2 separate regions of the Homo sapiens genome follow, and region 2 is linked to region 1. Evidence: promoter capture Hi-C in human tissues and cell types (Jung and others, 2019). All regions are on one chromosome and are shown on one strand. Each heading gives the region's core, a stretch centred on a gene start or on the middle of the fragment in contact. The rest is flanking DNA. Distances are from core to core; before and after follow the strand shown.

Region 1 (4,342 bases), core at 672-3,171:
CCACTGACTGGGATTACAGGCGCCCACGACCACGCCCGGCTAATTTGTGTATTTTTAGTAGAGACGGGCTTTCGCCATGTTGGCCAGGCTGGTCTCGAACTCCTGACCTCAGGTGATCCACCCAACCTTGGCCTCCCAAAGTGCTGGGATTACAGGCAATAGCCAACGCGCCCGGCAGGTCACGGTCCTTTTAAAAGGTTATGGCAATTGTACTGCTACTTCACCACTAGGTGTCTCACAATGCTAGAATTTGGGAAACTCAGAGGCAAATTGTTAAAAACAAAGTGGGGAATGCAGATATTATCTCTTTCCTCTAAAATGTTATCCAAAAATCTATTCTGGCCGGTGGCTCACGCCTGTAATCCCAGCACTTTAGGAGGCCGCGGCGGGAGAAATGCTTGAGTCCAGGAGTTTAAGACCAGCCTGGGTAACATAGTGAGACCCCATCTCTTAAAAAAAAAATTGTTTCTGTTCATCTACACACTTGAAGTTGCCTCCAACGTCCTTTCTCTGCTAGCATTTTCATCTTTCTACTACCCCAAGACGTTGGTCTCAAACGTGGTTCTTCGCAACTGAATTTTAAAATTATTCATGTAAAATCATGGACTGTCTGTTGTATTTTATGGACTCAACAGTTCACGGATAAATCAATCAAGCCTCTTCGATATTCATTTTTAAAAACTAGGCTTCTGATAAAAGGCTGAGAAAACTTATTCCTAAAGTGTTCTTTAAGAAAAAAAAAAAAAAAAGCAGCGGCCGGGCGCGGTGGCTCACGCCCGTAATCCCAGCACTTTGGGAGGCCGGGGCGGGCGGATCACGAGGTCAGGAGAGCGAGACCAACCTGGCTAACACGGTGAAACCCCGTCTCCACTAAAAATACAAAAAAATTATCCGGGCGTGGTGGCGGGCGCCTGTAGTCCCAGCTACTCGGGAGGCTGAGGCAGGAGAATGGCGTGAACCCGGGAGGTGGAGCTTGCAGTGAGCCGAGATCGCGCCACTGCACTCCAGCCTGGGCGACAGAGCGACTCCGTCTCAAAAAAAAAAAAAGAAAGAAAAAAGAAAAAGAAAAAAAAGAAAAAGCACCTACCACATCAGAGAATGAAGTACTTACATTAAACCCAAATGTTCTTCATTTGTTAAAGTGGAAACTCTTACCATCAGTAAATCTTGAGCTCTTAGATGTCAAAGTTACGTAGGCTTCCAAACAAGAAATTCTCTCATCTTTGTCTTTAAAACTCATGCCAAAATAATGCCACTTAAAGAGGAAAACTTTAGTTTGCACAATTAATTGAAAGGTGCAGCAGCATCATGATTGCTCAAAGTCGAAGGGTACACAGGGTGCATGCCGCAGGGATTATTCCTAACACTTGAGAAGGTCTAAATCATTTTGAATTTCCTTCAGCCCTCCAGAAAATAGTTATCTTAATATCCTTGTTTTCTCCAGCTGGACTTAGACATGAGTAAACTTCCCAAATTCGGGTTCCTGAAAAGGCAGCGTGTGCTGCAGCCTGGCACTGACTCCCCCGAGGAGCTATGGCGGGCGGGTGGGTAACGGTCTCACCAGGGCGTCAAAGATCCGCTAGGCCCAGAAAGCCAAGGGCAGCAGGGGATGGGCTGGCGTCACCAGGAGCGGAGGAGTGAGGGCTGCCGCGCGCCTCCCTAGGCCCAGCACCTGGAAGACACAGGGCGACGCGGGGCCGGGCCGCCGGGAGACCCGCTAACGGGCACTCGCCTGGGGTCCCGCCGCCTGCCTGGAGGCCGCGGGGCCGGGCGAGGCGCCGAAGCGGACAGGTGGGAGAGGAGCCGGGCAGCAGCCGCTGGATGGGCCGGGGAGAAGCCTCGGCCTCGCCCCCTGGGATGCGGGCTATGGCAACCCCCACGCCAGCTTCGCGTGGGGCCGCTGCCTTTACCTCCTTAGGTTTGAACGGCCCGCCCGGGGTAACCGCTAAGCGCAGCCCCGCCCCGCGCCGCGCTGTCCCGCCCCTTCCTCCGGCTCTGCAGCGCTCCCGCCCGGCCGCCCGCAGGCCTGGGTCCTCGCTTGAGCGGGAGGAGCGCCCCCTCTCTCGCTCACCCCTGCACCCGTCCCGAGGCGGGTCAGAAAGGCTCTGCTTCTCCCCATTCCCACTTTGGGAAGCATTACCGTATTTAGGAATGCTAACGTGGCCTACAGTGGGATGCCATTAGAAATCATGTATGAGAATGTTCCCTTGGAAATGATTCTCCAAACTGTCAAGTGCAAAAAGCAAGTTACAAACTGACCCCTTTTAGGTTAAAAATATGGATATACACAGGATGAGGTCTGAAAGGTATGAATAACTTGGATACGGTAAATTTGTACAGGATTATGTTTGCTTTTTAGTTCTTTTTATCTGTGTTTTCTTCTCATGTTTCAACAATGAATATATACAGATTTTGTGATAAAAAAGCTGAGCCGGGCCTGGTGGCTCACATCTGTAATCCCAGCACAGAGGTGGGAGGATCACTTGAGCCAAGGAATTTGAGACCAGCCTGGGCAACATAGTGAGACCCCCATCTCAAAAAAAAGATTTTTAAAAAATCTATTCATAAAAACCAGAGTGAAATGTGTTCATTGTTTACAAACATCCATTTTTGGGCATCATGAACTCCCAAGTACCCTCAAAGCCAAATAAATTTTTTAAACCCTAATTTTTTCATTCAATAAATATTTACTGGGCGTCTATTATATGCCAGGGACACTCCTGCTGCTCTTGGCAGCTTCTTCCTAGTCTCCTTTTTCTGGCTTCTTTTCCTTGGCCTACTCCCTAAATGAGAGGTCCTACCTCAGCATTTTTATTAGTTTATCATCCCATGCTTATGTAATTCTTATTCAGAACTTCAACCATCACTTTTAAGCCAATAACAGGCACTACCACCACTCTTCTCTGACTGGACATTTCTCCAACTGGATGTCCCTCAGTCATCCAAAACCAAACTCACTAAAATTATTATGAGACAGGGTCTCGCTCTGTCACGCACGCTGGAGTGCCGTGGTGCAATCTTGGCTCACTGCAACCTCCACCTCCCAGGTTCAAACGATTCTCCTGCCTCAGCCTCCCGAGTAGCTGGGATGACAGGCACCCGCCACCACGCCTAGCTAATTTTTGTATTTTCAGTAGAGACGGAGTTTTGCCAGGTTGGCCAGGCTGGTCTCGAACTCCTGACCTCAGGTGATCCACCTGCCTCAGCCTCCCAAAGTGCTGAGATTACAGGCATGAGCCACTGTGCCCGTCCACTAACAGTTATTAAATTCCAACTATGTGCCAATTACTGTGCTAGGTACTGGGAATACAGAGCTGACACAGCCACAGTTACTGCTGTTAAGGAGCTCATTGGTATAGAGCAAGTGCTGTAACAGAGGAACAGTAGCAGCACAAAGGAAAGAAGAACCAGCTAACTCTACTGGAGAACAGAGTGCATGAGATAGATTTTGATGTACAAGTGGCAATTTAAAAGGCAGACAGCAGGAAATTCCAAACTTAAAATGTATAAGGGCAGGAAAATTTCAAACTCAAAACAAAATGTGCAAGAGCAGTTGGGCACATGGAGAAGCTGCAAATAATTTGTTATAGGCAGAAACTAAGAGTTGTTAGAGGAAAGGATTAGAGAAAATTCCTGAGAAGTGAAGAAGCTAAGTCTTGGGAAGTTCTGGTTGCACCTTCAGAGTTTGAAGAGCATTTTAGAAAGTCCACTCTGGTGGCAGAATGGAGGACAGAATGAAGAGAGGCAAGGGTGGCTGCTAGGAGACCAGTAGGAAGCTACTGCATTTCTCCAGAAGGCAGTGGGGGGTGGAGCAGAACCAAGATGTGACATGTTCAGTTGGCAGAATCAACTGCATGGGGCAAGGAGTGAGGGAATGAAGAGTATAGGCTTGGGAGAAAATAAGATGCATTTAGTGTGAGGTTGTTAAGTTTGAGGTACCTGTAGGACTGTAAAGAATTAATGAATTACACATTCTTCAAGACAGCACCTCTCTGAAGCCTACCCCCACACTCCCTGGTAGAGTGAATAGTACCCTCTCTAGCTCTTCAAACAAATCTCTATTACAGCCATTTTACCCTTTCCTGCCCCACATTTGCAATTCTCCTGCAGAATTCTACTGAATTTTCTCTGTGTAGTTTACTACCTTCTAAAATCCCATATTATCTACTCATTTTTGTTTAATGTCTGCTCCCCATCTCCATCCCAATGTAAACAGGGCAGGGAATTTTGCCAATGGTTAAGTAGAATCCACATAACCCCAAAACCATTTAAACATTGCCCTTTTCTTTTTTCTCCAGTTAATTTATTTTTCTTGAGATATTTTATTATGTCTGAGGAGTGA
Region 2 (4,342 bases), core at 1,169-3,668, 650 kb after region 1:
GAAAAATATATTTTATTTTGACATAATTTCAGACATACAGAAAAGCTGTAAAAATAATATTGAGTTTTCCTAAATGCTTCACGTAGCTTTCCTTAATGCTAACATGTTGCATAACTATAGTACATGATTAAAATTCAGAATTAACACACATACAATACTATTAACTAGATGACTGACTTTGTTCAGGCTTAACTAATATTTTCACTAATGTTCTTTTCCTGTTTCTATATCCAATCCAGGATTCTGCACTGCATTTTGTTGTCATATGTCCTTACTCAGCTCCAACCTGTGACAGTTACTCAGTCTTCCCTTATCTCTCACAATCTTGACTTTTTTTTTTTTTTTTTTGAGATGGAGTCTTGCTCTGTCTCCCAGGCTGGAGTGCAGTGATGCAATCTCAGCTAACTGCAACCTCCGCCTCCCATGTTCAGGTGATTCTCCTGTATCAGCCTCCCAAGTAGCTGGGATTACAGGCACACCCCGCCATGCCCGGCTAATTCTTTGTAGTTTAGTAGAGACGGGTTTTCACCATGTTGTCCAGGCTGGTCTCGAACACCTGAGGTCAGTCAGTCTGCTCGCCTCAGCCTCCCAAAGTGTTGAGATTACAGGTGTGAGCCACTGCACACGGCTAATGATGATTTTCTATTTTCTTAATTATTAATACATTTATTTGCTTTGAATTCTTCTGTAAGGAAAAGCTGTCCTTTCTCCCACATTTATTTATTTATTCAATTATTTATTGATACCAGTATGGATACATGGATATTTATTTTATACTTTGATGCTTTAAACAATTAATCAAATGTCAAATTATTTTTAAAATTTCTTCTTTTTCTTTTTTTTTTTTTTTTAGGCAGAATCTCACTCTGTCACCCAGGCTAGAGTGCAGTGGCACGATTTAGGCTCACTGCAACCTCCGCTTCCCGGGTTCAAGCGATTCTCCTGCCTCATCCTCCTGAATAGCTGGGATTACAGGCACCTGCCACCACGCTTAGCCGATTTTTTGTATTTTTGGTAGAGACAGGGTTTTACCATATTGGTCAGGCTGGTCTTGAACTCCTGACCTCAAGTGATCCACCCGCCTTGGCCTCTCAAAGTGCTGGGTTACAGCGTGAGCCACCGCACCTGGCTAAAAATTTCTTTTCTCTCTCCCATGTTCATTCTCTGCCTCTTCTTCTGTTACCCAGCATGGTTGGTGACCTAACCATGGAGTGGGCCTGCCTGTTGAGCCATTCTGCTGTGAAGAGATGGGGGTAAGTTCACGGAGAGCTGGCATTGAAGGATGGCTGGGAAGTCTCTGTGCTAGGATGGGGCAGGCAATGGCAATGTGTGTTCTAGATACTGATGTGACTCACCTGCAGTGAGGAGCAGAATTCCTAAGGTCCCCAGGAGGGCAGGAAAGGTGGGGATTCACATTCAGCCACAATGGTCAAGAAAGAGAAAAGGAGTGGGGCTTCAGAACACCTGGGGGTTGATGATGTCTTACACTTGGTGTTTCTCAAGTCCCAGGGCTCAGGTCTGGAGAAAAGGTGATTATGTAGGTCAGCGTCTCCAACTATAGAAAACAAGGCACTTGCTAGCGTAAGCTCAAGGCCATCCTCAGGAATGAATAGCTGTTGACTTTTCATTTTAAGTGCGGATTCGGGCATGTGAGGACAAAGTAATAATTCGGGTGAAAGGTCTCCCTTATGAAAGGATTCACTCTGAATCGCAGAAAACAACTCCTTCTCCTCCTAAGTACACCTTAACATTATTCCTTTTATAAGGGTAAGAGTCAAACTGGGACTTGGTAATCCAGCCAAAAACTGGATTCAGGGTGTGAATGAGCCTTATTGACTCTCTATGTATCCATAAACCACCTTGTAACCCCCCACCTGACATTATGTCTACCTGTCCTATTGAATCAGAGGTCCCCAAAGCAAGCTGAGGGTGCCTACCTTCTTGGGAGAGAAGGACCCAGGCTCCATTCCTGCCACCGTGGGTTTGTAAGTCTTCGTAGACAGTGAGCCCCTTCTGCTTGGCTTCTCCTCCTCAGCTTTTGCAGGCAAGCTAAGGCTTTAGCCTTTCCTCGAGGGAGCTTTGGCCAATTTAGGGCAAAGCGGAACTGTGTTTGGTAGTAACCTCGGGCTTGGGTTTCTGTGTCACTCAGCATACGTGGAATGTTCATGTTTCTGTCTGCCTTCACTTTCGAGCATGTTCTGTGTACCAGGCCCCATACAAAGTGCTTTAGGTAAGTATTACTATCCCATGACAAATGTTTTAGGTAAGTATTATTATCCCATTTTACACATGAAGAAACTGAGACTCAGGGATTTCCACCACCATGGATGGCACAGAGTTAGGACCGAGGTCTCTCCAGCCCCAAAGTTGAGCCTTCATCCATCAAGCCATGCCACTTTTGGAATTGTGTCTGTCCAACGTCAGAACTTCTTTCATTCCCTGTCCTTGTCCTTGTTGAATGTTGTATGTTCAGAGATTTTTCCTTGGCTTTAGGGTCTGGGTCACAACTCCACCACACCCTCAGGGACATGGTGCATCTCACCAGGGAGGTTATTCCTTCAAAAGTGTGGGCTCTTGGGGCGACACTGAAAGGGGAGTCAGAGCTTCAGAGTTTGTGGTTTCCTGGGCAAATTCCACAGTGAAAAGAACAAGACAAGAATCATTCATTTGAGTGCTTTAAAATAATAAATTATTGTTTCTATTTCCTGAGCACTTACAAAGTGCCAGGCATTGCGACAAGCACTTCACACACATTATCTCACCATATTTCCAACTACCCGCAAGGTATAGGTCCCAATCCCTTACCTGGTTCCGTTCAGATTCAGGTATGTTTCAGAATTCCGAAGCGTTCATGTTTTTAAGGGGCAAATCTGTGCCTGTACTGTATTTTTCATAACACCTCCCAGCAAGGTCTGGGGTGACATCCATCATTAGACATCGATATTTCTGCAGCTGACATATGGATAATCATGCTTAATGGGATAAATAAAAACTATATTATATAAAGTCTCATAATCTTTCAGGTCAGGTTTTACCATCAAATGAATTTCCTGCTAACTTAAAAAAAAAGCTGTTTTTCAGAGCCTACTGGATTTCTGAATTGCTGATAAGGGATTATGGATCTGGAATATTATTTTTCCCACTGTATAGATGAGAAAACTGAGATTTAGAGACATCAAGGAACTTATCCAAGGTCATACCACTAAGTGGTGGAGCCAGGGTTTGGAGCTGGTTTGATGTGCTTGTACCCCAGCACTTTTTTTTTTTAACCTCTGTTTTAACTTTAAAGCTTCACATGGCAGGAGATAAAAGTATTTGGAGGTGGGGGTTTTGGAGGTTTGTTTTTGTTTGTTTGTTTTTGTTGTTGTAGTTGTTTTTTTGGAGACAGGGTCTCACTCTGTTGCCCAGGCTGGATTGCAGTGGCATGATCATGGCTCACTGCAACCTTGACCTCCTGGGCTCAGGTGATCTTCCCATCTCAGCCTCCCAGGTAGCTGGGACTACAGGTGTGCGTGACCACACCCAGGTAATTTTTTTAGAGATGGGGTTTTGCCATGTTGCCCAGGCTGGTCTCAAAATGCTGGGCTCAAGCAATCCACCCTCCTCATCCTTCCAAAGTAGATAAAAGTTTTCGGACTTCATTGACTTTATTTCTTCATGAGGATCCACTTAAAGCTGACATCCAAATACATTTTCACTGGGAATGATTAATAAATGTTTCTCATAAATTGATAGGCTAGACCATATTTCTGTATCCAGTCACCTTCTCAAAGAGGTTAACAAAACAGAACATCATCATGTTTGGGAGGAGGAGGTGTGTAACTTTCCCATTTTCACTAAGAAAATAGTTTGTCCCTTTCTGTTCTTTCCACCTTCATGTGTTTTCTTGTTTGGTTCCATTTCTGCTCTGGTTAATGTATTTGAAGCCTCTGGTTTCCGTTCATCCAGGTGCCAGGAGCCACTGGTGTCCCCATCGCCTCATTTTCTTCCCCTAGGCAGGGCTTCTCCTCAGCATCTCATTGACCCCATTGTTCAAAGTTCTTGCCAATCCTCCCATCCATGGATTTCAATATGTAAACCCCATCTTGACAACTACTTGCTGAGTGAATATTAGAGAAATAGGATCGTTTCACATAAACATCTGCTACTTCATTCTAGAACTTAAAAGTTTGTGATTCCAGTTAAAGCAGACGAGCCTGTTTTTCAGGGGATTGCAGAGGACAGAGGTGAGGGGTGTGTGTGTATTCCTGCTGCTTTGCCAAGTCTCCCACCTCCTCCAAGTCACTAAGAATGGGGACACCTGGCCAGCTACTCAGCAAGACATCAGATTCTGGGAGGCAGA

What was found. The method cuts DNA at HindIII sites, captures the fragments that hold promoters and counts their contacts. A contact is called where the count stands out against the background at its distance.
Region 2: a fragment that was not itself captured here is called in contact with the fragment with the promoter of FBXO43 in region 1 in 1 of the 25 tissues and cell types used here (dorsolateral prefrontal cortex).

The regions. Positions count from the first base shown.
Region 1 is chr8:100,143,896-100,148,237 of GRCh38, forward strand. FBXO43 (F-box protein 43) reads right to left here and starts at 1,922. Exons shown (of 5, transcript NM_001029860.4): 1 at 1,156-1,922. The coding sequence starts at 1,240. RefSeq lists an enhancer at 385-534 and a silencer at 1,646-2,105. The HindIII fragment of the contact is 9,588 bases long and covers 286-4,342 here.
Region 2 is chr8:100,794,587-100,798,928 of GRCh38, forward strand. No RefSeq gene overlaps it. Among named protein-coding and RNA genes, the nearest start is that of PABPC1, 75 kb to the left of the region's middle. The HindIII fragment of the contact is 5,520 bases long and covers 1-4,342 here.